Linked DNA regions of Homo sapiens: region 2 is linked to region 1. The links are contacts of gene promoters, found by promoter capture Hi-C in blood cells and fetal thymus (Javierre and others, 2016). All regions are on one chromosome and are shown on one strand. The core of a region is centred on a gene start or on the middle of the fragment in contact, and the rest is flanking DNA. Distances in the headings are between cores, read along the strand shown.

Region 1 (3,074 bases), core at 575-3,074:
CAAAAAAATGGAGAAAATATAAGAAACTGGAAATTCCTGGGGATGTTTTTAGTTGGAGTTGTGTGTCTTGGTATTTATGTTTATCTGTAATTTTGAACTGGTATCTTAAAATTCTGCAGTTACAAATAAAAACAGATTGACATGTTCACTGTCTGTGTTAAGGAACTAAAACTTAATATTTCCTTTTCATTTGTTTTAGTACATAGTACTCTGAATCAATGGAGAAATGGATATTCACCTATATGTAAGCCTCAAATAAGGTCAGAATCTTCTGCACAACTGTTACAGGGAAGAAAGAAAAGACATTTGAGTGAAACAGCATTAGGTAGGTTAAAGTGAGGATATAAGCAGTAGTGATAAATATTAAAAATTAAAAATTCTGATTTTAAAATAACCTCTCATGGGAGTTTATAATCCAGAACAGCCACTAATAACACAAAACATCTATGAGTCTACAAACATGAAACAGCATATTCGTAGTTAATTTAGAATTATTTGTGGACTGGTATCTACCCACTTTATGGCAATTAAGTATTTCCCTCCTATGTTCCCTGACTAGTTGTCTTCTACCAATCAGTCCCTGGATGGGATTTAATCTTCAAAGTTGTGTTCTATGCTCAAAATAGGCTAGTGCAAAGTTGCCTTACAGAAACTGTTAACCATTTATGGTACCTACTGTGGAGATGTTGATGCACTGCAGATTCCTCAGGATTTTGAGAAAGTCAACAAGATTCAACTTATATATATATATAAAGCTTTAAAAACATCTAATAAGATGCAACATGAAGTATACATTACCTAAGATATAAAATGTTTCACTTAAATTGACTGACACTTTAGATCTAACTTCAAGTTTGATGTACATACAGGAATAAAATAAAGAAATGTCATACTACAAATAAATAACTAGACAATTCCAAAAGGGTAGGACATCTGGTCCAGCCTGTCAAAAGTCAATGTAATGAAAAATGATTTATTCTAGACTATAAGAAACCTAGGAGACAATGGCCAATTTTTATATATAGATCCTTATCTGAAGAAACTAGCTATAAAGGACTTTTTTTTAACAAATGGAGATATTTAAATATGGACTGGGTATTAGATTTTATATTATGCAGGAAATATTCTCATTTTAAAACACTTGTACTAAAATAAGGGCAGTAAGTAAACGCATACATATATATATTTACTACACACACACACACACACAGTAACTGGGAACCAAAACAGGAAAAAAAAAAAAAAAGAACTTGGAAGATATACAGAAAATACTAACAGAAGTAAACTTCTAATCAATATCCTGAGAGATATGAGAAATTTCATCTATGAAACAAGAACAGGATGCTGTTTTAAAAAAAGAGTACCAGAGAACAAGTACTTTCGGAAACATGTACTTATAATAGCAGAATTTTTTCAAAAAATTAAGAGTGTTCAGAAGACCAAGGACAGATACCTCACATAAATTAGGATAAAAAGTCAGATATGAAAAATGAGATTAGATAAGAAAATTAAGATAGTTCTGGTGGTTCAACTATGAATAGGAGTCACAGGAAACAAGAATAAAGGGATGAGATGAGGGATTATTCAGGGAACAATAAGAAATATATTCGATAAAAACTGCCAAAGCCCCAGAAAATGGAAATAACTTGTGGCATGACTGCAAGTAAGGCTCCTCTTTTTTCATTTCCTTTTTTGTTTTCTAATACACGAATTTAAACACACACACACAAAACAAGGAATCAATCACCTGTCATCTAATTAGGAAAGTAATTCTAATGATATTAGACTTGTTTAATGTGTAACATTCAATGGTTCTTTCCATGGCAGGAGAAAGAACTAAACTTGAAGAATCTGATTTTCAACACACAGAATCAGGATCCCATAGCAATTTTACTGCTGTTTCCAATGTCAACGTTTTATCAAGAATCCAGAATTCATCACGAGTAGGTTTTTCCATATGTTGAACTCTAAAATAGCTTTAAAAATAAAAACACCTGATTTTGAAAATAATTTATATTTTGCTAATCTATAACAGCCTTACTAGCACATATTAACAGACATTTATAACTATCTTGTTAGAAAACAATATATTTGATTCATACAACTTATTTTTAACTATGAAGCTAAAAGTTCATTAATATTTGGTTATAGCTTCTTTTTATGTGTTAAAAATTTAAACATTATCATGATCATCTCTATTCCTTAACATATTAAGCTAAATAAAGTCTTACTAATGAGAATTCAGGACTTTCTTGTTCTTGTCCTGTTTTTTGTTTGTTTGTTTGTTTTTTTGTTATCTGGCCAGGGAATAGAGAGGTCAAAAGGTGGGAGGGTTTAGAAATGAATTCCGAAACTCAGGAACCAGGAATGCATAAATGAAGAGTATACTGAAGGGCTGACCAAAAATGTTTCACTGCCTTTCCTAATAAAAAGTGGTTACTGATCATTTTCATTGACATTTAGGGTGATGTATGTTGGTCTTTTCTGATAAAGAGTTTTGCATTTAAGACCTATTTTTTGTGGTCTTAAAAATAAGCTTGTATGCTTGCACACATAAATACACATTACACATCTACCAAGAGATTGTTCTGATTTACAAAAGATAGAAAAATGTTTTATTTTTTGGTTTTCTTAACATTTTTTAGTCAGACTTTATAACAATGTATTTACAAAAATTATGTAACGTGTACTGCCATATTTACATAACTGATGAAAGGAGGGTATCATTACAAGTAACTAGACAGTACTGTAAATCTACTGTAATCCTGTTTTGCAGAATACTGCACGACGGAGATTGAGAAGTGAGAGCTCTTATGACATAGATAACATTGTGATTCCCATGTCATTAGTAGCCCCAGCTAAATTAGAGAAACTCCAATATAAGGAAATACTTACTCCAAGGTATGTATACTTACATCTTCATATTTTTCTTCCTTCCTTCCCTAATAAACTTAAATTTTCAAAGTGAAGAATTTTAATTAATGAAAGGAGCATCCTTCTCCCAGTTCCTTCATAGCCATGGAGGGGAAACGGTGAAAAAAAAATTACTCGTGCCTTAAGTGTTATATAGTATC
Region 2 (3,497 bases), core at 359-2,858, 460 kb before region 1:
CATGGTATTGCACAGAAAAAGAATTCTGGAGGGATAGTGAAGTCTAACTCTTGTCTATTCATATATTGGTAGGCCACAATCTAAATTCATAGCAGTCAACTTTGTCGGCTTCTGCCCAGCCACCAGGTTCCTGGTTATCTAGCAACTCCCTTACAATAGTGTTGGTTGCTGTCAGTGGCTCATAAGCACTCTCACAAGCTTTATTGCTACCACCCTTAAATCTCCACTGAATTCCCTGCTAAGTTAAGAAACAAGAACTGAGAGAGCAGAATGATATGACTATTCCTCAGGTTAACAGAATGAAGGGAAGGCCTATGTTCCAGCTGTTATAGGACCCCCTCCCCTAACCTAGCAGAAGATTCCTCTTAGGAGACAGGTATCTGAAACTCACCAGGGCTGACAGATCTGTTCAAGGTGATCCCACATTTCTTAGGGGCCAAGAGGTAGAAACTTGGTGCCTTAACAGTGGAGGTGAGATGGTAACTTCCCATTGCCACAGGACACTCAGAACACCAGGAAAAAAACAAACATGTCCAGGTGCGGTGGCTCATGCCTCTAATCCCAGCACTTTGGGAGTCCAAGGCAGGCGGATCGCGAGGTCAGGAGATAGAGACCATCCTGGCTAACATAGTGAAACCCCATCTCTACTAAAAATACAAAAAATTAGCTGGGCATGGTGGCACGTGCCTGTAGTCCCAGCTACTTGGGAGGCTGAGACAGGAGAATCACTTGAACCGGGAGGTGGAGGTTGCAGTGAGCCAAGATCGCACCATTCCAGCCTGGCAACAGAACAAGACTCCGTCTCAAAAAAAAAAAAAAAAAAAAAAAAAAAAAAACACAGATACCAAATACATGCTTTTACAACCAGAACATTTCAAAATATCCAACAGTTAAATCATTCCTGCAGGAACTCAACACAGGCAGTAATTACATCATCCTAAGAAACAAAACAAAAATGAAACTCTTATAGCCAATTAAACTCATTCAAGTCAATTATCCAAATAATTCCTGCCAATACACAATTCAAACCTTCACTTCAAAAGAATTTGTTTACAAACCTACTAATTGCCTCCAGAAATTAGCATCCTGGAAGCATTATAAAGTGTCCTAGTCTGGAACATCATAGTCCTCAAGGGGATTTTCCAACTTTGCCCCTAGAACATTCTATATCTTACAGATGAGGGATCCTAGGGACCACAGAGTTTCAAGGGTCTTCTCTGAGACAAGAGTCTTCTGAAGCAGAAACAGAACTAGACTCCCAACCTAGGATTCTGTGGATAATATTATCTTACACACAAAAACTATAAACTGAGATTTTCAAGAATTACAATAACAGACCAACAGTTTCATTGTGTACATGTGTATCATGGGGTTCATATTTTAGATCCCAGTTTGATGGTACAAAAAATGAATTGATTCATTTCCCAAGAAATCCACCTTTTGTTACTTATAGCCCTGGCTCACCATTGAATTAAGACAGCCTCTCTTTTATTTCCACTTTGGATATATCCTATTACCATTAACTAGACCAATAAATGTCCTTCACTGTCCCCCCACAAACTTCTACAAGTATTCTGCACTCCTCTCTTTATAGGTGCAATGCACTTTACAACGAGAAGAGGAGCTCAAGGATAAATTCAGATGTAGTTAATATGGATCATTTTAAAAATTTTGATTCTGCAGCCAAATCACTTGGTACATACTTATGGATTTATTAAGTAATATTCATGTACTAGATGCAAGATTATTTCAGACAACCTAGGAAGGTCACATAAGCCTACATAGAAAATCTTCCCATGGCTATGCAGAAGAGGAAAAAAGGGATTGTGCACAATTACAGTCTCTATTAGAGACAATTTGTAGGTCAGAGGTAAGCCTATAAGCATATATATCTCCCCATAATTTTCCAGAATATTACTATTAGCAATAGGCTCTAGCTCTACAAGAACGTTTTTCTAAATGGTATTCCTGAGTGGTTACAGAGAAAGCTGAGAGTAGTTGAATCACTCTCCAACTGAAGCAAGGCTGTGTATAAAGTGAAATATGTTTATTTCTTTCTTCATCCTTCCTTCCTTCTTCCTTCCATCCTTTCTTCCTTTCTTCCTGCCTGCCTGCTTTCCTTCCTTCCTTTTTTTTTTTTTTTTTTGAGACAGAGTCTCGCTCTGTCACCCAGGCTGGAGTGCAGTGGCAGGATCTCGGCTCACTGCAAGCTCCGCCTCCCGGGTTCACGCCATTCTCCTGCCTCAGCCTCCCAAGTAGCTGGGACTACAGGCGTCCGCCACCACGCCCGGCTAATTTTTTGTATTTTCAGTAGAGACGGGGTTTCACCATGTTAGCCAGGATGGTCTCGATCTCCTGACCTCGTGATCTGCCTGCCTCGGCCTCTCCCTTCCTTCCTTTTTTATTTTATTCTTATAATAGTATGGAAGAAAGCAAGTATGATTGAAGTCCCACAGCTTGTTTGTAGCTCTGCCTCCCCACTTTATGATTTTTTTGGTTTAAACCAAATTTTCTTCTTTTAATGCTCCTTAAATAGTATTTATTTACTTGCTCCTGTGACCTCCAAATTAGAAGTGTCAGAGTGCTAGCAGGTGTATGTGCCAGGGAAGAAAACTTTCCTTCCTACTTACATATAAAACTAGACCAGCTCTGTTTCTGGGTCAGTCTATCAGAGTAAGGTCAATGTGCAAGGAAGAAAATATTCATTCCTGGGATGTGCCAGTGAATGAACCAGCACCAGCATGCATCTACCTATGTGACACCCAACAGAAGATTTGCTCTGTCCTCTGAAATGCTCTGTAGCCAGAAATTCAAAGCAAGGTCAGCAGCAGTTAAATACCGCACCCACCAAGTCAGACTGACCCTAGGTACAAAGAGTATCCATTAGGAGATAGGAGAGAAGATCCTTTTCTCTTTAAATTCTGCAATATATATTCTTTAGTTCTGAAAGGTAAATTAAACTCGAGATTTCCTTTTTCAGGGCTGTTTGCACTGATCCAGGCCTTAAAGATAAGCTTTCCCATCATCTATAAGTTTGCAGTGCAGGTAGACCAAATAGTTTTTCAAATGTTAACATAAGCAATTTTCTTGCTAAGCTCTCCAATGAATAAATTTTCATAATTCTTAATAATCTATTGTACCTCTAATTTCCAAGATTTGTATAAAAGTAAGAATTAAAAGAATATTCATGAGTATGAATCTGAAGCCCACTAAGACTTCTAGTTTTGCTAGAAAAATCTCAGTAAACTTACTTAGGATTTTTTTTTTACTTTATAATATAAAAAATTAACCTCTTTAGCATTTTTCTGGCTATGGAATACAATTATAAATCAAAAAGTAGAAGGAATGAAGGAATGAGGAAGAGGAGATAGGCATAGCTGTAAACATAGTTTTTTAACCCACAATTCCCAAAGAAAAACATTACTTTCCCAAGAGAGATCTTTCAGTTATTGTCCAAAAGATAGGTGGAATTTGTACAGTCACTGATAAATCCATTG

What was found. Contacts are between HindIII fragments. The CHiCAGO score rates a contact against its expected background, and 5 or more counts as called.
Region 2: a contact is called between a fragment that was not itself captured here and the fragment with the promoter of KANSL1L-AS1 in region 1, in 1 of 17 cell types (non-activated CD4 T cells). The highest score is 5.6, in non-activated CD4 T cells.

What each region holds. Positions count from the first base shown.
Region 1 is chr2:210,028,672-210,031,745 of GRCh38, reverse strand. KANSL1L-AS1 (KANSL1L antisense RNA 1) reads right to left here and starts at 1,824. Exons shown (of 5, transcript NR_110291.1): 1 at 1,748-1,824; 2 at 239-279. KANSL1L (KAT8 regulatory NSL complex subunit 1 like) reads left to right here. Exons shown (of 15, transcript NM_152519.4): 9 at 200-325; 10 at 1,828-1,943; 11 at 2,777-2,901. The HindIII fragment of the contact is 1,781 bases long and covers 758-2,538 here.
Region 2 is chr2:210,488,647-210,492,143 of GRCh38, reverse strand. It overlaps a transcript of CPS1 not described here. Among named protein-coding and RNA genes, the nearest start is that of LANCL1, 14 kb to the right of the region's middle. The HindIII fragment of the contact is 2,816 bases long and covers 201-3,016 here.